Linked DNA regions of Homo sapiens: regions 1, 2, 3, 4 and 6 are each linked to region 5. Evidence: promoter capture Hi-C in 16 types of primary human blood cells and fetal thymus (Javierre and others, 2016). All regions are on one chromosome and are shown on one strand. Each heading gives the region's core, a stretch centred on a gene start or on the middle of the fragment in contact. The rest is flanking DNA. Distances are from core to core; before and after follow the strand shown.

What was found. Contacts are between HindIII fragments. The CHiCAGO score rates a contact against its expected background, and 5 or more counts as called.
Region 1: a contact is called between a fragment that was not itself captured here and the fragment with the promoter of MS4A12 in region 5, in 2 of 17 cell types (total B cells and naive B cells). The highest score is 7.6, in total B cells.
Region 2: a contact is called between a fragment that was not itself captured here and the fragment with the promoter of MS4A12 in region 5, in 2 of 17 cell types (naive B cells and total B cells). The highest score is 8.6, in naive B cells.
Region 3: the fragment with the promoter of MS4A4E here is called in contact with the fragment with the promoter of MS4A12 in region 5 in 7 of 17 cell types (monocytes, M2 macrophages, total B cells and 4 more); the score reaches 19.8 in monocytes.
Region 4: a contact is called between a fragment that was not itself captured here and the fragment with the promoter of MS4A12 in region 5, in 1 of 17 cell types (total B cells). The highest score is 6.4, in total B cells.
Region 6: a contact is called between a fragment that was not itself captured here and the fragment with the promoter of MS4A12 in region 5, in 5 of 17 cell types (naive B cells, total B cells, M0 macrophages and 2 more). The highest score is 6.5, in naive B cells.

Annotation. Positions count from the first base shown.
Region 1 is chr11:60,290,243-60,293,418 of GRCh38, forward strand. MS4A4A (membrane spanning 4-domains A4A) reads left to right here. Exons shown (of 7, transcript NM_148975.3): 2 at 1,983-2,142. Among named protein-coding and RNA genes, the nearest start is that of MS4A4A, 11 kb to the left of the region's middle. The HindIII fragment of the contact is 1,887 bases long and covers 785-2,671 here.
Region 2 is chr11:60,340,033-60,343,603 of GRCh38, forward strand. MS4A6E (membrane spanning 4-domains A6E) reads left to right here. Exons shown (of 5, transcript NM_139249.4): 5 at 744-1,309. Among named protein-coding and RNA genes, the nearest start is that of MS4A6E, 15 kb to the left of the region's middle. The HindIII fragment of the contact is 2,957 bases long and covers 1-2,741 here.
Region 3 is chr11:60,241,359-60,244,519 of GRCh38, forward strand. MS4A4E (membrane spanning 4-domains A4E) reads right to left here and starts at 1,779. Exons shown (of 9, transcript NM_001393391.1): 1 at 1,600-1,779. The HindIII fragment of the contact is 3,157 bases long and covers 958-3,161 here.
Region 4 is chr11:60,310,291-60,313,684 of GRCh38, forward strand. No RefSeq gene overlaps it. Among named protein-coding and RNA genes, the nearest start is that of MS4A6E, 15 kb to the right of the region's middle. The HindIII fragment of the contact is 8,677 bases long and covers 1-3,394 here.
Region 5 is chr11:60,491,175-60,494,742 of GRCh38, forward strand. MS4A12 (membrane spanning 4-domains A12) reads left to right here and starts at 1,604. Exons shown (of 7, transcript NM_017716.3): 1 at 1,604-1,654. RefSeq lists enhancers at 1-589, 590-1,327. The HindIII fragment of the contact is 5,161 bases long and covers 1-3,568 here.
Region 6 is chr11:60,259,055-60,262,259 of GRCh38, forward strand. No RefSeq gene overlaps it. Among named protein-coding and RNA genes, the nearest start is that of MS4A4E, 18 kb to the left of the region's middle. The HindIII fragment of the contact is 7,421 bases long and covers 1-3,205 here.

The sequences.
Region 1 (3,176 bases), core at 478-2,977, 200 kb before region 5:
GTAATTTATGTTGTACACCTCAGGGGGGGCCTCTCATCCTTGATAAGTATACTCTGAAATCTGTGGCCATGGTGTCCTGTTTCTTTCATACTCTCACTACACTTCTCCCCAAATTTATCATCATGTAATCTTTGTTTCTAACACTCATTTCACCTGATTTATAGAAATGTTAGTTGTTTCCCACTTTCATAAAAAAAATGGAGTTCTAATTCTGTTTGTCCAAATTGTTTTCGGAACTTTTCTAAAAGTGAAAAGAATAAGAACATTGATTTTTTGGTTACATTCTTATATATAATTCCTTATCTTAACTACTTCATTCACATTTACATTATATATTTCTTATTTATTATATTTGTCTTTCTTTTTTAAAAGAAATACTTATTTTATAATTTGTAATTTTGTACTTTTTATTTTACTATTTTTCATAATTTTAAGTATATACATTACTAAAGTTAAATTAATGTTCTAAATAATTAATCTTTTCATTTTAACGTTTCTCCTCTATCTTTCTCTGAAATTCACCCCCCTTCTTCTGACTTTAATCAGTTTTATTGTTAGATAGCTAATAATTTATTTCCATTGATGTATCAAAAATAAATACAGGATGATAATTTTTTCAGAGAAATCTTAATTTTTTTCTCAACATAGCAAATTTGGAGTACAACAATTTTTTTTTCATTTATGGTACCAATAAAAGGGCACACATCTCAAAACGAGACTTTTATAGGGGCTCAGTGGAGAATAAGTGGTATCAAAATTAACTATTACTTGAAGGATATTAGCAAGCTTCATTTCCCTAAAAATTTATGGAAGTTGATCATGAAACACCTGAATATGAATTCAACTACATAGATAAAAATTTCCATGTGACTTTAGCCTATCTCTACATGACTTGGTTGGAGTTATTATACTGAGGACAGAAAGAGATATAAGAGTAATATGTTTGTGCTTAGATTCTCAAAAAATGATTTGATGGATCCTTGCTATGCACCAGCAAGTTAGGATTTAAAGCAATGTAATAGGACAAGAGATTTAGATTTGTGGTGCCAAGAATATGACTGAGAGCCATAAGTTTCATTCCCAAAGTTCAGAGTTTGTGGCACAAAATACAAGGTTACATAAATCACACTCAGCAAGGAGGAACATGGGAAGATTTTCAGCCCTGTGAATTTAACTGTGCTCTGATTAGAAAAGGAGGAACTATGCAATACTATACAATAAATTGGAAGGCAGATTAGTTTGTGTAGTTTATTACTATTATAAAAGTAATCCTTCAGCTGGGTGCGGTGGCTCACACCTGTAATTCCAGCACTTTGGGAGGCCGAGGCGGGCGGATCACAAGGTCAGGAGATGGAGACCATACTGGCCAACATGGTGAAACTCTGTCTCTACTAAAAATACAAAAATTGGCTCAGCATGGTGGCACGCGCCTGTAGTAACAGCTACTCGGGAGACTGAGGCAGGAGAATCGTTTGAACCCAGGAGGCAGAGGTTGCAGTGTGCCGAGATCGCGCCACTGCATTGCAGCCTGGTGACAGCGTGAGACTCCATCTCAAAAAAAAAAAACAAAAAAACAAAACTAAAAAACAAAGTAATCCTTTGTGGGTAAGTGGCTGTAATCAAGGGATTAGGCAGTAAGAGGGATAGAAATAAAATCTGAGCCGACTTGGAATTGGAACTTAAAGAAATTTCTCTAATTTTAGAGGTCCAACAGGTTTACCTCGCTTCTGTCAACATGTCCCTCTCTGCAGGATTTTCTAGCATCTTGATATCATATGACATTTAGTTTCTCTCCCACCTGCCCCCGCCCCACACACACACTTAATGTGTTGCCTATTCCACTTCCCCAGCTCTAACAGCTATTATGATATGGGAAGAGAATGTAGACCAGATTCTGTCCTTAGGGAGGAACCTGCCCCAAAGTGTCATGTCCTCTTTTGCCATTTCCAGGACATCATACTAAATTACATTTCTTATTGTAGCACCTTTTCTGCTGCCATGACAACCATGCAAGGAATGGAACAGGCCATGCCAGGGGCTGGCCCTGGTGTGCCCCAGCTGGGAAACATGGCTGTCATACATTCACATCTGTGGAAAGGATTGCAAGAGAAGTTCTTGAAGGGAGAACCCAAAGTCCTTGGGGTAAGTTGCAAATCTAGGGGAAGACCAATGGTGTTGCAAACTCATATTTCATAAGACCTAATGCCAAATACACTGTCCCACTAGCCTCATAATACAACAGCCAACCCTCACGACGTCAGTAATTACTTTTCAGGCTCTTCATCTGAAAAACTATATAGTATTCTGTCACAACATGCTTCCAGTTGAGTTATATTTAAAATATATTGAGTTCAGATCTATTCTAGGGTTGTGGGTCATCCATGATAATTGTATTTAAACTCAGTGTGGAAAAGCAGCAAAATAAAAGGCCACCTATGCACTACTAGCTGACGCCCCCTTTACAGGCCTTCCTGATAGCTGACAGGCACATATTGCTACTATTTCTTTCTGGCACCTTTTCTTAGCCCCCTGCTCAGAGGATGAAAAATCTATCCTCTGAGCATTTCCATCTGGAGTCTCAGATGAGCATGCCCAAAAGAAATGAAGGATTAAAAGAATGACAGAATAGGGCAGGTGAAAGGATATTAAATATAGGTTTATCACTAGCCCAAGCTTCAAACCACGGGAAAATGTCACTGTGGATATTCTGGATCCTTTTTTCACATTATTCATTTTCTGGAGGGGGGGAAATATAGTTATTTCTCATAAAATATGTTATTTATGTTGGCACATACTAGGTTTGTTTGTTTATTTATTTTTAATTTTATTTTTTGAGATGGAGTCTCGCTCCATCATCCAGGCTGGAGTGCAGTGGCACAATCTGGGCTCACTGCAACCTCCGTCTTCCGGGTTCAAGAGATTCTCCTGCCTCAGCCTCCTGAGTAGTTGGGATTACAGGCATGAGCCATCACACCTGGCTAATTTTTGTATTTTTAGTAGAGACGGGGTTTCAGCATGTTGGTCAGGCTGGTCTTGAACTCCTGACCTCGTGATCTGCCTGCTTCAGCCTCCCAAAGTGGGTTTATTTTTTAATGTATGAATAATTATTTTAAAATATACTGTATGTTTTAGAGCAGTTTTAGGCTTAAAGAAAAATTGAGAGCAAAGTACAGATC
Region 2 (3,571 bases), core at 13-2,512, 150 kb before region 5:
TCACCAAGAGTGGTAGAAGGAACAATCAGTCAGTCATGAGATACACATGGGAGGTCATTTAAATGGTGATGGAAGACCGAGAAGAAAAGCAGATGGTAATTGAGTAGCTGACAAGCTGAGAGTTCACTGGATATGAAAATAGTTAAAATGAGAAATCAACTGGTTCAATCTTCCCATTTTGTCATTGAAGGGAATGAGACTCTGGGAAGTTAAATGACTGGGCTGGCATTATGATATGAGTCTGTACCTGTGCTGAGGACGCTAGAACCTGGCTTGCCTCCCTTCTAAGCAGAAACAATTTCTGCCACAACCACTAGTCTCTTTAATAGTATTGACTTGGTAAAGGGCCTTTACACATGTGACTGGATCCAGTGAATGTCTTATGCTCTGCTTTTCCTCCTGGTGATTTTAAAATTCTTTTTCCTTTTAAAAGATATATTAAAAATGTATTGTTGAATCAAATTCCAAGGGATACCACCCCTATGGACTTATTGCTTTATTTAACTGAATTTAAAAGCCTTGATTTATCCAGAATTTTATTATAGAGAATAGAAGAATACTAGACTGATAAATTGTAATTATTTGAAGAACCCAGTGATCTGCTCTACTTGTCTTGGATTAGCTAAGAATTCTATGTATACAGTTGGAAAAAATGGCATATCCACATGTATCTTGAACCTGAGTAAAGTCTGAAGACCTAACATACTTTGTTTCTTCTAAAGTGTGCTTTTCCTGCCTCACAGTTACTCATGTCCTCAAAGACGACTCATGATGCTGGATATGAAGAACTATTGACTTCTTGGGAAAAAACGGAGAAATATTAATTGGAAAGTTGATTTTTATGATAATATGGAAAACCTAACCATTATAAAAAAGCAAACTTGAGTTTCCTAAATGTAAGCATTTAAAGTAATGCATATTTGTTTTAAAAAATTATTTCGCTGTCATTTATGATATGTGTTCATTGGGGATCTCTTGGTTTGCCTGATACTGACTTCAGCAAAAGCACAGGGCTGTAAATTACCATTTACTAGACTAGCCAAATAGTCTTAGACATTTCCCAGAAAACTAGGCAGAATGATGATTCAATGGATCACAGTGAGGCAAAGGATACAGCTTTTTCTTATACTCCTCAATTGTGAACAGGAGTTAACTGATTTGCTGTGGTGCGCAGACTCTTTTATCACAGGTGCTACTGATTTATCCCATGTATTTTACTCATTAGTGCATAAAGGCAAACCCCATAATGAAGTCTCCGAGTGTATGAAAGTAGCCGGCTTCAAAATAAAATCTTTGAGTGCATACTTTATTTTAATACTTATTTTGTTATTTTTTCCTTTAAACACAGAATAAATCAACAATGACAGACATAAACCCAAATTTTAACTCAATTTTCTCCTCACCAATATTCAAACAAAACTAACGAGTGAACAAATGCTAACCAGGAATGCTTATCTGTTATGAAGAGACAACCAGTTCATACTTACGTCCTTATTTCAAAATAAAAAAGACGAATTGTTTGAGTATAACAAACATAAGCCTCACCTTGCTCATGCACACACACGCACACACACACACACACGTGTAAAAAAGTATTTCAATTTTATATGACCTCCATTTCTTTGAAAGATTTTGTCATATTTCCTTGCTCTGACCCTCTGTAGCAGGGGTCATACTTCATACTCACTGTCTCAGATATCCTGATACTCAGAGAGTTTCTCTGCTCTTTTTTTCCAGTCTCAAATGGAACTGTCAGTTTCTTTGATTTTAGCTTTATCTTCAAATCTGTTTCATTAGGTCTTCTCCCTGTCCTTTGCACCCCCCACTGACACACACCATTTCTTTTATTTATTTGCCTATTGTGGACATTCAACTTTTATTGATACTTATTGGATACCAGACACTATGCTTTTAATGCCAGGGCTACCAAAGTGAATAAGATACATGATTTGGCTTCAAGATATTTATAGTCAAATAAGGAAAACAGAGATGACAATGAAGTTAGGGATTTCGCTAACTGTTATTTGAGCACAGAATAAAGACACTAACTGTTATTTGAGCACAGAATAAAGAATATCATCTTCTGCCTAAAAGAATGTAGAGGATAAACAAGTGTGTGTGTGTGTGTGTGTGTGTGTGTGTGTGTGAGAGAGAGAGAGAGAGAGAGAGGGGGGGGGAGAGAAAGACAGAAAAGACAGAATGTACTTCCTTTGAAAATCCACCTCCCCACTATTAATCACATGGTGCCACCTTCCGCCACAGGAGAGGACCATTGAAGCATTGTCATTTGTCTGGGGTAATATCAGAGGTTCATTGTCTCATGCCAAGAAAATTGAAGACATGGACACACAAAGAGTGAATTTAAGAGCAGAAGTTTAATGGCTAAAAGAAAGAAGAGTGCTTCCTCATGCAGAGGAAGGGATCCCGAATGGATTTCTGGGTTTGGGGCAAGATGAGGCTGGTTTTATAGATGAGTCTGAGGAGGTCGTGTCTGATTTACATCAGGCATAGTAGATTGGTTGGACCAGATGTGCCATTTACATAGCATGGGAAGTGCTGGCCATCCCACACTAATCTTTTATTATGCAGATGGGGTCTCCACCTGGCCGGCACCATATTGCCTGCTTTTTTGCTGCACACATGGTGACAAAGAAAAGGGAAGAGGGAACCTCCATGCTTAATATATCTAGCTTCCAGGTATCCCTTTTCTATTGGCACAACTGCTGGCATTCACCTTTGCAAGCTTCCAGCTTGCTTATCTATTCTTGCAGCTGGATTTTTCAGGCTTCTTTTGCTAGACAAGAAATGATTTGGGGGCTGCTTTTTAATAAAAAGAAAATCTTACTGAGAACTCCCTTACCCTCACTAGCTACTTAAATAATTTCTTTTTAGCTCCTGTGTTATTTCTCCCCTCAGAAGTAGTAACCCTAACTGCTGTTAGAGGGTGTTGGACAGTGACTCTTTCTGACTACTTCCTGCTGAAAAGGGGCATCTAGTGGGGACAGCAGCTAGGGCTCCTCCTGAGTTCAATCTAACGGTCCTCAGAAGAAAGGCGTGTCCGTGTGTGGTTCTGCCTGCAGCACCATTTAAAGTTTGCTTCTAGGCCAAAAGAGATAAATTTTACAAGAAGGTTTAGAATACAGGGTTTGAATATGAGTATTAAGATTACCATTATTAGTGGGGGTACCATAGGCCATAACCATGCCAGTGGAGTTTGATACCTGTTAGCCATTTTAATGGCTTGTAATACTAGTTTGCCTCCACCAGGTGTCGCTTACTTTACTAGACGCGTTAATATAAAAGGAACCTTTTTTTTGCATAAGTGTCCCCCAATTATTAATTCTACTATAAAGATTATAATTAGACAGAATATTACAGCAATTAGAATTTTCCAACCGGAATTCCATATTGCAGGTGCCACAATGTATAGTTGTGTTGCAAATAGTAGAGCGCATGTATCAATTCCCGGAAAGGTGGTGTAGTAGATAATTTACGTCTAAAACTTTTACTCGCCAAGATGTAGAATTTCTCCTTGGGGTTCTATGAAGTTACAAATGTAATCCCATGTATA
Region 3 (3,161 bases), core at 529-3,028, 250 kb before region 5:
CTCACGCACACCTTCAGACTGAGAATTTAGGACATGTTGGGTCTGTCTTATCAAACACACTTGGTAGTTCTCCCTCTGTGTTTAGTGCCTCTCGGGTAAGGCTGTAAGCTTCCTGAGGGCCGAGCCATTATATCAAATTAAGGCTTATAATTGACTCTTATGATTTTCCATAATTCTTTGGTAACATAGGTCAGGTTCTGGTCATTCAAGGCTGGTGCTCTGTCTTTATAAGACATTCTTGACATAAATTTATATAACTGCCTCCTATCTTTACACCACAGAAATCCATGTGTTAATTATCTAGGGTAGATAAGGTCCCCAAGGAAAGAAAGCGTGTGTTTACAAGACTCCACTTCTCTACAATCAAAATATATATTTTTTAACTGCAGAGAATATTGGATACATATGAGGGAGGGACATTTCTTTCAGGTTGGAGAAGAATCTAAACCTTGGTTTTGCCACATCACCTATATGCATCAGGTTCTTGACAACTACAATGTCTTCCCCGCCCCTCCTCCCCACCCCGGATAAAGAGGTGGGGTAACCTAGACCACCCTTCCCTCTTCTATTGGCCCCAGTCTCCTTGTGGATCAGCAGCACCAGCAGTCTCTTGTTTCCTCATTTTTATGTCACCATCCCCCTTATGGGTCACAACACAAGAGAGCATGAGGAGAGTGGTATACACGGTCATCCCCTTTTTCTTGGCAGAGTTATCAAATAGACTAGAAACCCAAAATGAGGCCTGAATCTGGATGGTTTTTAGGAGGATGATGGGGATGCAGAAATGGTGGCATGGGAAGGGAAAAGGGGGAAAGGCCTGGGCTAGGAACCAAGAATTCTGGGTTTTTTGCTCCTAGCCCTTTTGTTAACTTGTGTGATTCTAGGTACATTATTTCCCTTTTCTGGATTTCATTTACTTCATCTGGGGAAAGATTACAATGACTACGACTACTTACAAGCTTCTTTCTTATCCTAAGAATGCTAAAAGTCTACAAGATGTTTTTCATTTGCAGATTTTATCATGAGCAGCCTCAGTTTACTGCCTGGGTGCCACATGAATAGTGCCAAAGACCACTGGAGAACTACGTCAGGCCACAGCCCATCTAAATGTACAAGGCTGGGGACCCTGCCTGTGCCCTACTCCATGTACACCAAATTCTGCACGTGCTAGATCTTTTCTTAAGTCTTGAATTATAAAAATAACCAGTCAGAGACAAAGAATAAAGACCATGGAAGAAGTGCATTAACAGTAGATGAGGTAATTAATCAAAGTTTAAAATGTTGCTTACAGTGTTTTGGTATCCTGAGAACTTACGGAACAAAAGTAACTAAAACAACTTCATCCAGCCTCCAGTGTCAGCCTTTAGGAGGCTTTTCTAACTCCCATCAACTGTAGCGAAGACTGTTCCTCAACCACCCACAACCCTCACCAAATGCATATTTAAATGTGCACTCAATCCACCCCAACCCTGACTACCAGCTTGGGTCATGGGAAGTGACCTCATTTTTTTTTCTCACTCCACTCCCAGAAATCCTAAACCCAGGAAATGAAACAAACTATCAGTCCGAGAGCCTAGGAAGGCAAGTCCCTGGACCTACCTTTCTTCAGGCCTGCAATGTCTGCTGCAGGTCTGATGAGTGCAGGGCTCTGGGCAAGTTCCTCAAAGTTCTTTGTTCCAGACACAGTCAGCTTCCCCCACTCCACACCTCACTCAGTTTAAATCTGCACTCCTTTTCTAGTAGATGTTTGGAACCTTAAAGGATGTGTTGAGAACTTCTGAGACACACAACTAGTTCCTCTTTTTTATCGGAAGCATTAACTGATTTTGCGTTCCCAATATGGGTGTGGACGTTTATTTTGAAATTTGCTGAAAAAGCAGTGGCTGCCTGATACAGTCTTTCCTATGAAAATAATAGTGCTAATTACTGTGGGTATCAGTGGTGGAGGATTTTCTGTTTGCCAGACTCTGCTCAAAGATTGTTATATACACAACTAAGTAAATGGTAATTTATAAATGCCCCCTTTCACAATTTCACACATTTCCACAGTACTCTTCTTCCCAGAGAACTACTGTTACTATTGTATTAGGTTGGTGAAAAAGTAATTGTGCCTTAATATACACAACTTAAATATCTTATTTTCATGATATTTCACCTTTGGAGGTTCAACATGAATAGCCACAAAATGGGAACAAGTTGGTTGTACAGCAATAATTAATACAACACCTTTCTAAGTCAAAGAAGCAGCTGGTATCATAGAACAAGCTGGTCTTTGACTAAGACAAACCCAATGGCAATCATTTCTTGTATGACCTTGTTAATCCCCTGAACCTGATTCATTGGTAAAATAAAATAATGCCTTCTTTACATGGAGGAAAGCAAAGTGGCATGCAATTTTCATTCACTCAGCATTTTCTTAGAGAAAAGCTACTATAAGCCAAGCAGTGTGCCATGTGCTTCAGATAAAATGGTGAAAAATGATTTTCGCTCAAGGATTTTATAGGCTACTTGACAATATAGACAAGTAAATAAATCACCCATTATAATCAGTTACCTGCAAGGTAAAGTGGCAATGCTGATGAATAAATAAATCATTACAACCCATTATAATCAGTGATCTGCAAGGTAAAATTGGATATCCTGAGAGAGCTCATAGGAGGATCAAAGAACTCAACGTTGGGTAGGTAGGCAGAGGAGACTTCCTAGATAAAGGGACATCTAATTGGAGACCTGATGAATAAGCAAAAGACACACAAATGGAAGAAGGATGGAGCTAGGTAACATTATTATTCCCATTTTCCAGAAGATGGAACTGAAACTCAGAGATATTCATATAGCTGGTATAGATGAGATTGAAATCCAGTTTTGCCTAATCCCAAAAACTTTGTTGTCTATAATCTGAAATTATTTTAATTCTCAGAATTAAATGGGTTATATTTCAGAAATATTGTCCTGGTTTTCATGTAAAGCAACAATAGGAATAAATAATACTGAAATCAGGGAGTTAGGGTTAAGAAAGAGGCAGTTCTCTAGGGAAGGGATGATGGTTACTGAACTACCTATGATGCTAGTGAAGTTGGAGAGAATGAATGGATTTGAAAGATGTTTAGGAACGAGAAATGACAGTACTTGTTGATATAATGGATGTGTAAATCAGGAGA
Region 4 (3,394 bases), core at 303-2,802, 180 kb before region 5:
CGTGAGCCCCCGCGCCCGGCCAACTGTTAATATTTTACCATGTCATAAAGAGATATTGGTCTATGTATGTACCTAATTCCAATCTTTTAATTATTGTGTATGTACTGATATCCTACTTGTTTTATTTCTTCAATATTGTATTAATACTTGGCAGATTTTGTACTCGGCATTTATTCCCCATTTGTTCTGATAATGATGGCCTGATTTCCTCCAAAAAATCACCATTATCTAACTCTTAATTTATGTACAAGGGTGGAGCTCACCCAACCCCCAATTTCAGGAGTTGACCTGTGTCCTACATCTGGGAAGTGGCAGAATTACATCAACTCAGCTAGAGTGAAGTTCTTTGGTAGCCTTGTGACCTAGGAAAAAACAATTGTGTGAATGACTGACACATTTCCAATCAAAATTAATCTCATCATTTTCACTTCACTGACCAAGAAATGGTCTCCCCATCTTTCCTCTTTCCTGTTGGGTTTGGAGCTGTGAGGACGTAAGTTTGCTGCCATCAGCAGCCCCGTGACAGACAGATGCTCACAGACAAAAGCAGAACTGAGAAGTTCCAAGTGAACGATCAGACCCTAATGTAATTCTTTTGAGTCTCCAAGTCAAGTTTTACCCGGAGTTGGCCCAACCCCTGGGGTTTTAAATATATAAAGACAAGGAAAGAGATTTATTCAGATAGTGCAATAACTGGGCAAAATCCTTCAACGGCTTCCTCTCTAATTCAGAATAAAAGCCAAAGCTCATATAAATCCTACATAGTCCTTACATCACGTGATTCTTTGTTGTTTCTTGGATTTTTAAAATATCCTGACTTATATCCTGATATATTGCTTTGAGATTGTTTAAAATGGTAAGAGAGTGCCTTCTCTTGGTGATAATTAGTGCATACATAATTTTTTTAACACTTACATAAGCAACCTAAGATTAGTGCATTTTTAGTTGTAAAAAGTTCATGCAAATATTTTGTGCTATTAGTGCAAGATATTATGATTCCAACTTTTAGACAAGACTACCTGCACTTGTTTCATGTCATGTGATTTGAAATTTATTCTTCATTTGGTTATTCTTGGTTTTATCTATATGTGATTAGAAAGCAGTAGGAAAATGTCCATGAGACTTTGTCTCCTTTTGCTACTTTTACAATAAAAATAATTATTGTTTCATAGGTTTTTGTTTTTTTTTTTGAGAGAGGGTCTGGCTCTGTTGCACAGGCTGGAGTGCATTAGAACCTCTGCCTCCTGGACTTAAGCCATCCTCCCACCTCAGCCTCCTAAGTAAATGGGACTACAGGTGTGCACCACCACACCCAGCTACTTTTTCTATTTTTTGTAGAGACAGTGTTTCACCATGTTGCCCAGTTTGATTCCCTGTCTGCTTAATGATTGCAAGAGGCTCCCCTGCTGGGTTGAAGTTGGGCCAAGAATTGCCTTAGTAGTGGTTGATACGGTTGGGATGGTATGGTTAAAGTTGAACTCATCATTGAGGGAAGCATCTTGGGACCGCACTTCGCCTTGTAAATAATTGGAAAAAAAAAGTTATAAGGTCTTGAGTATATAAAGTGATATTATTGATAACTTCTAACTATAAGTAGTCCAAGCTCTTCAGGTAGATGCAAGATATCTGTGACTAAAAATGATTTTTTTAAAAAATTTGAATCCAGTATTTTTGGGTTTTTTTTTTGTCTTAGACTCACTGAGGCAAAATGAAGGCTTCACGCTAAGTTAAATTTGTGTTATCAAATATTTCTGTCCCCTTTCTCCTCTAAAATCTAATTTCTCTTCTCTACCAGTCCTAAATATCAAAGATTATAAGAAAAGTAAGGATAATTAAAGATTAAAGAATATTGAGGCTTGTGTATTTTTTCAGTCAATGATAAAGAAACGGGCGATCAATAATAAGCAACTGGTAAGTGTACTATAATCAGCATTGCTACAAAAACTGCTATCTATTGAGAAAACATGCATCCAACTATTAAAAGTAATTTATATTTATAAAATCAAATTAAACCCACTCGTAAATGTAAGAGAAGTCTCAAAGGGCTCATTGTTATAACAGTTATAATAGGTATTTTTACATTTGAGGTTGTAAAATGATAATACTGTATGCAAAGTTAGAGGCAAATCAACAGTTCTAACAGTGATGTGTTACACTTACATTACTCAGTAAATTGGATTATAGAGCATGGAACAATTTGGGGAAGAATCATCTCGGGTGTTCCCACTGACCATTAGAAATCTGTAGTTTATCTTAAATTAACTATTTTTAAAATTTGCCATTTTCCACAACTCTTACTTTTCCTGATTCTGAGTCCTGATCCCATAAACTTGCAATACTCTATGGAAAGGATTTCAAGAGAGACATACTTTTATCTTTAATAAAAACATGAATTAAACCAGAAGGAAGGAAATAAAGAGTTGAAGCCCACTGCTGTGGCTGCTGAAGTAATAGATGCATTTTATCTTAATACTTGACTAGAAATTTCCTGTATCTTCATTTTGTATCTTATTATGAATCTTCATCATTAAAATGTATGATAGCTTTATGGTAGGTCTTGAAATCAGGTAGCATATGTCTCATATTATTTTTCTTCATTAACAAAATTGATTTAGTCAAAGTCTTTAATTATTTCATGTACATTTTGGAATTACTTCGTCAACTTTATGCAATCCAAAAAGACCTTCTTGGATTTTGATTAAGAAGGTATTGAGTCTATAGGTCTATAAGGGAAAATTGCCAACTTAACAATATTGAGTTTTCTAATCCATTAACAGAATATACCTTTTCCTTTATTTATTTATTATTTTTATTTATTTATATTTTTTTGAGATGGAGTCTCGCTCTGTCACCCAGGCTGTAGCGCAATGGTGTAATCTTGGCTTACTACAACCCCTACACCTCCTGGGTTCAAGTGATTCTCTCACCTCAGCCTCCAGGTACCTGGGATTACAGGCACACGCCACCACGCTAGGCTAATTTTTTGCATTCTTTTAGTAGAGATGGGGTTTCACCATGTTAACCAGGCTAGTCTTGAACTCCGTAAATGCACAGCTTAGTGTTAGAAAACAAATTTAGAATACTTCCCTGCAGATTTCTGGACCTCTGTCTCTGCATAGCTATCCCCTTTATGGTTCTCTTCTCACTAATTATAGCTGTCTCACTGCCCTCAAATTCTGGTTTTTGTCTTCTGAATTTGGCAATATCAGAATGGATCCCTCTCCCTGACCATGGTCTGGAAAGTTTCTTCATGCAGAAAACCAGAGCAATTATTATATTCACATTTGTTTTCATTTTTTCAGTGTTGAAAGTCCGGCACTGTTTCCCAATGTCTGGAAGCAGTTGTGCTTAATTTTTTTCCGGTTTTATTTATGATATAAAAAAATTTTTGAGA
Region 5 (3,568 bases), core at 354-2,853:
CGGGATTGTATACGGAGTCTCGTTCACTCAGTGCTCAATGTTGCCCAGGCTGGAGTGCAGTGGCGTGATCTCAGCTAGCTACAACCTCCACCTCCCAGCCGCCTGCCTTGGCCTCCCAAAGTGCCGAGATTACAGCCTCTGCCCGGCCGCCACCCCGTCTGGGAAGTGAGGAGCGTCTCTGCCTGGCCGCCCATTGTCTGGGATTTGAGGAGCCCCTCTGCCTGGCTGCCCAGTCTGGGAAGTGAGGAGCGCCTCTTCCCGGCCACCATCCCGTCCAAGAAGTGAGGAGCGTCTCTGCCCAGCCGCCCATCGTCTGAGATGTGGGGAGCGCCTCTGCCCTGCCACCCCGTCAAGGATGTGAGGAGCGCCTCTGCCCAGTGGCGACCCCGTCTGGGAGGTGAGGAGTGTCTCTGCCCGGCCGCCCAGTCTGAGAAGTGAGGAGCCCCTCCGCCCAGCAGCCGCCCTGTCTGAGAAGTGAGGAGCCCCTCCGCCCAGCAGCCGCCCCGTCTGAGAAGTGAGGAGCGTCTCCGCCTGGCAGCCACCCCGTCCAGGAGGAAGGTGGGGGGCCAGTCCCCGCCCAGCGAGCCGCCCCGTCCGGGAGGGAGGTGGGGGGGTCAGCCCCCGCCCGGCCAGCCGCCCCCTCCGGGAGGGAGGTGGGGGGCGCCTCCGCCCAGCCGCCCCTTCTGGGAAGTGAGGAGCCCCTCTGCCTGGCCATCACCCCGTCTGGGAGGTGTACCCAACAGCTCATTGAGAACGGGCCATGATGACGATGGCGGTTTTGTGGAATAGAAAAGGGGGAAAGGTGGGGAAAAGATAGAGAAATCAGATTGTTGCTGTGTCTGTGTAGAAAGAAGTAGACATGGGAGATTTCATTTTGTTCTGTACTAAGAAAAATTCTTCTGCCTTGGGATGCTGTTGATCTATGACCTTACCCCCAACCCTGTGCTCTCTGAAACATGTGCTGTGTCCACTCAGGGTTCAATGGATTAAGGGCGGTGCAAGATGTGCTTTGTTAAACAGATGCTTGAAGGCAGCATGCTCGTTAAGAGTCATCACCACTCCCTAATCTCAAGTACCCAGGGACAAAAACACTGCGGAAGGCCGCAGGGTCCTCTGCCTAGGAAAGCCAGAGACCTTTGTTCACTTGTTTATCTGCTGACCTTCCCTTCACTATTGTCCTATGACCCTGCCAAATCCCCCTCTGTGAGAAACACCCAAGAATGATCAATAAAAAAAAAAAAGAGACTATAAACATAATTTGAGTGTTTAGAAATTTAAAAATAAAATCCCAGTAAAAAAAATAAATAAATAAAAATAAAAATAAAAAAATGCAGTATGATATTGCAATGATTGAGCATTAGAAAGCTGGAGAAAATAAATACTAAAGTGTTTGGGAGGGTCACAATAGGCTTCCCAGTAAAAATTAGAGGAGGATGTGAAAGCACAGCGTATTCCAAACTTTACAGTTGCATTTACATCTCTTGAGGTGAAAGAGAAATAACCATAAAAGGACTCTGGAACTACATAAAGATACAAGACAAATTGGTTTGGAGAACGGAAATAAAATCTACCTATAAAATCCAGGTAAATATCTGATACTGGCACACAGGTTGGAGCAGAGAAAGAGGAAACATAGAGGTGCCAAAGGAACAAAGTAAGTCCATTGATACGTTCTTGCCTATCTCTCCTCCAAATCAATGGGCACAAACTGTGGCTGGTCTACCTGTGTGGGTTCTGTTCTCTAGATTGGAGGGATGAAGACAAGTTCTTGACTCTATGTTGAGGCCAGTTGAAAAATGAGGGAGAATAAAACCATGAACGAAACAAGAAAGAAACAAAACAGAAGAGGAATGAAAAAGTAAGTTGGTTGCTGTACAAGAGATAAAACGGACTGCAAAAAGAAAAAAAAAGCTAATGCTCGCTGGGTGCGGTGGCTCACACCTGTAAACCCAGCTCTTTGGGAGGCCGAGGCAGGAGAATCACCTGAGGTCAGGAGTTCGAGACCAGCCTGCCTAACATGGTGAAACCCCATCTCCACTAAAAATACAAAAATTAGCTGGGCGTAGTGGCAGGTGCCTGTAATCCCAGCTACTCGGGGGGCTGAGGCAGGAGAATCACGTGAACTCGGGAGGCGGAGGTTGCAGTGAGCCGAGATCGCTCCATTGCACTCCAGCCTGGGTGACAAGAGTGAAACTCCATCTTAAAAAAAAAAAAAAAAAAAGCTAATGCTAAGAAAGGTGAATAATAGGTTCAACTGTATGCCATTCCATGAACATGGGCCCAAAAGGACGAGGCCATGCCCCACTGGGCACTTGATGATTATGTGGCTACCACAGGGACAACATAGAACACAGAAGTAATACTGGAGCCCTTGGCTTTGTAACACATTTTAATTAAGGTACTTCTTTCTGACAAGAAAACAATTAAAATTAAAATAGGTAGGGAAAGAACATTCATTTTCACCAGATCAGCATTTTGTGAAAGGTGATATAAGTGTATACCTGTGGATGTACTGGGTGATTTTGTGAAAATGATTCGGTTTCATGTTTTGCTTTATGCTATAAAGTACTCTTGAAAATAATAATCATCTTCACTCTGTCAAAAGTGAAGTTAGCATGAAAATGAGGTAGAAAGAAACTATAAAGAAGTAAATTTTTCCCATTTTTATTTGAAATAATGTAATCACAGAGCAAATTGCTGAGGTTTTCTCTAATTGCTTTAGTCTTATACTTTTGATCTCATCAGAGCTCCAATATTTTTATGTGTTCCTTGTTCTTAAAAATAATTGCAGTTGTTCTAATTCTTATTTTTAAAAAAAGGACAACTAGGGGTAAATATTTTGTCAACTGTCAAGAGAACAATCCTACTAAGTCAATAGGTGGAATCTATAAAAGGAGTCTATTTATTAGTTTCCCTTCTCATGTATCATTTACAGAATTGTCTTCATTTCAATTGAATAATTAAAGAATCAGAACTGGCTGGCTCTGTCTTTAATTCCTTTTATAAAACCAGAACTTGACCCAGTAAAAATGTATTCTGAGTCCTAATAACTATAGACCTAGCCATGAATAATCTGGGTTCTATGTGAAATTTACAGATCTTAGTCCAGAAACTAAACAGCAGATATGAAAGGAGAAACTGTTGATAAATAAATGAAAAGTATTGAGTTTTCCTCATAAAATTTCTCGAGACAAAAAAAAAGCAATGATCAACAGCAAAGGAGAATGTAATGAAATCATATACATGCAGAAACGTGGACAATTCTTTAATTGTATGCTTTTTAAAAGCTCAAAAAAATTCTTGTTCTGGTTAATTACTGTACTCTGAGTACCCATCTCCTATTTCTTTGCTCTTGAAATTGACCCTGTTCAATTCCTTTTATAAACTTTTCCTATGGCCACATCCACTGCCTAAAACAAGATAGAATACCTTGGGATCTAATAATAAAATAATAGTTCCTTTTTAAGCTCTTGCCATGTGCTAGGCACTGTTCCAACAGTTTTGCATAAATTAGGATAATTTGAACTTTAGACTAGCCTCCTTAGGTACCTTCTGTCATTTTACAGTT
Region 6 (3,205 bases), core at 370-2,869, 230 kb before region 5:
CTCACTAAGTTCTACAAGATTGCCTTCTTTATCATGCTTACCTCTGAAGTCTGCAGTGAAATATTATTAAACCACCCACGCATTCGCAGTATAATTACAACTTGGTAATGATATATGTTACACTGTGGGATTATATTTCCTTGTGTTTTAAATATGATTTTTCAGAGACTGAAAAATATCTGAAAACTTCTCCATCTCTTAGTGTGCTGGTTGGGTTTAGATCAAGATCTTTTAAAATGAATTTGTGAGCATTCCCTTTTTAAAAAAAAATCTTCTGAATATTTTGAATAAAATTTCCATTGTCTATTATTTTTAGTATCATATAACTCACTTCTCAGGGCATGGTGTTTTATTTATTTAATTATTTATTCAATTTGCATATGTATATTTTAAATTACTTCTAATTTTCAGGGTATTAATATTTATTTTAAATAGTAAGTATAGTGTATTCATTTTTATTTAGATTACTAATATATCAGATTTTAAATGTATAACATCTTATATTTTCCTTTCTATTCACCATTATTTAATTGTTCTTATTTTTCCAATTTCTTTTTTTCTATTAGACTGCCAAAATTTTGTTTAATTTCCTTCTTATTATTTGATGGAAGACCCAAGAATTGCCCTATGGATTAAACAATCACAGACAATCACCATGTAGGCCCTCAAAGTTGTACCATATTTAAGTTGGCTTCGCATTTTCTCAGTTCTCATGCTGGATGTGGTTGAAGAGAGAAAAGGCAGTATTCCTGGAAAACAGAACTGGAAGTGGCTGAACTGTCAGGCCAAGAAACACACATTACTATTTAGGCAGAGTTCCCTATTAAGACAGAGCTCCCTTAATATTTTAATGAAGTATTAAGTGCATGGGGCTTTTGGTTTGACATTCACTTGGGAAAGGCTGAATGCACATCAGTTAGCTGTGATCATTGTTGGAAGAATGGATCAGAAGAAAGTGTCCTTGGGCATAGGGCAGACAAAGGAGTGACCTGTAGTATGCACTTGTTGCCTGCCCAGAATCCATCTTCCACTTTCCTCTTCCCAGCAATCTGTGACTTCTGACTGGGGATCCATGTAATTCTGAGGACTGACTCCGTCCCTGCCTCCACTGTGCTCTGGCTCTAGGCCCAGTCAATGTGCTTTTCACACCCCCTTTCCACTGCAATGATTGAATCAGCGTGGACATGTAACCTTACATGGTCTCATCAGAATGATTCTCAATCGTCTTGTTTTGAAACTCTAGACTATTCTAAAAACACTATTCTTCCAAACTACAGGGTGATATATGGATGTAAGGCCTAGACTTGATGTAGACATTTTTGCTAAGCGGTGGGAAATCAGCCTAAGCATGAAGCCAACACACAGAAGAGGGTAGAGCTAATACACTACACAAAGGTACACAAGAGTTGGGGCTGGAGCCTCCATGACATCTAAACATCTAAACCAGTAGCTCCAATCTTATCTGAAGTTCACCTCAACTCTGTAGTCTTCAGAAACATTAGCCTACATTTTTTGTTTTGACTTTCTCTATATGATAAATAATGTACTCCTCCCTCCTCCCATCCTTTGCATTTAGAAACACAAAAAATGATTTGTTTAATGTCACAAAGACCACTATTTCTCCAATTCAGATTGTAATTTAGATAAGTAAACAATCAAAATCCTTTACTCTGAGCCCTGGAAATGAAGGATGAAAATTGAGGAGAGAAAAACAAAGAAACCAGGGCATTCATGGTGTTAGATACAGTTAGGTTCCCACTTCAAACAGCTTATCCAGTTTCCCTGTTCTCTATCCTATAATTCCACATACCCCCTTGCCTTTGCTGCACCCCAACTTGTCTGAACCTAGGCATGCCTGAACTTGCTACAACCCCAGTCCACATTCCTTTCCTTATTAGGGAATAGGTTACCTTCCTAATGTCCCCGTAAATGACCCCTCGTCTCTCTCTTCTCACCTTCCTTACATGTCTACCTTATCTAAGAAAGTTTAAATGTTTAGCCAGTCACGACTAGTTAGACTGTGCTGTCCAACCCTAGCCAATAGAGGAAACACACAGAAGCAGAAGCTGCATTAGAGATAATAAAACCCCTGCTTTCCTTTGTTCTGTGTGCTCTCGCCATTGCTCCATATGCGAGACACACCCTTCTGCAGAAGTAAATTTGCCTTGCTGAGAGACCCTTTGTCCTTTGTTTCAGCGCTAGTTCTTTTTTGTGACACTGAGCATGTGTTTCCAACAATGGGGACAGGAATGGAAAAATGAGTTGGAGAGAGGCAATAAAAATCTTTCTTCTCTTGACTAATATATGAAAAACACTGGCACCACCAAGTAAAAAAGATAAGATCCCCTCCCACCAGGAATTTAGGCTCCTTATGGGTACTCAGACAAACAGTTTTTCTAAGCTGTAGGAAACCGATACTAAATTGACAAATCTTGATGAATACCTCATAGGCTGTGGCATTCAATGCTACTATTTTGGACCTTACGGTGCAAAAGAAATACATTAATACACTGCCTAACATTCATATCAAGTAATTACACTGTCTACTATTGCTACATTGTCTTATTTTGCTCTTGTTCCAAATTCACATAATTTTCCCTGTTGTTATTACTCTCTTTTCATGAATGAAGAGGTTTTTGAAAACAGGTTTGCTACAGCAACAATTCTCTGCTTCACACAGGAGGGACTCCTAAGTGCCAGCCTCTGTATATGTGAACAGGGCTGCCATTTTGTTCTCACCAGTCTAAAGTTATCCTAGGTTCCTATTCCAAATGAGCTACCACTCACAGTTATTTTATTCAGCCAATATTTATTAAGTATCTGGCCCATGCAGACCTATGCAAGAGATCAGTAATACCTGTAGAAGATAATGTCCCTGCCCTTGAACACAGTACATAGGGAGCATCACGAGAGCACAAAAAGTTCAGATGTGTTGGCTAAAATTTCCCTTGGGAAGAGGAGGATTCATTGAAAATTAACATTCAAATAATGCTTTCAAAGAAGAGCAGGTGCTTGCAGCCATATGCATTCTAGGTAGGGGAATCAGTGCGCACAGAGGCTAGAGCCCTGAAACAGTTTGGCTTACTGGGGGGAACTGCAAACACTTTGTTATGATTCTGTCACAGTGGGAGAAGTGACAGTTTCATTTGGGTGAGAGGTAAGATCCTGGACGTGCAAAATGTGGAATTCACAGGACTTCAAATGC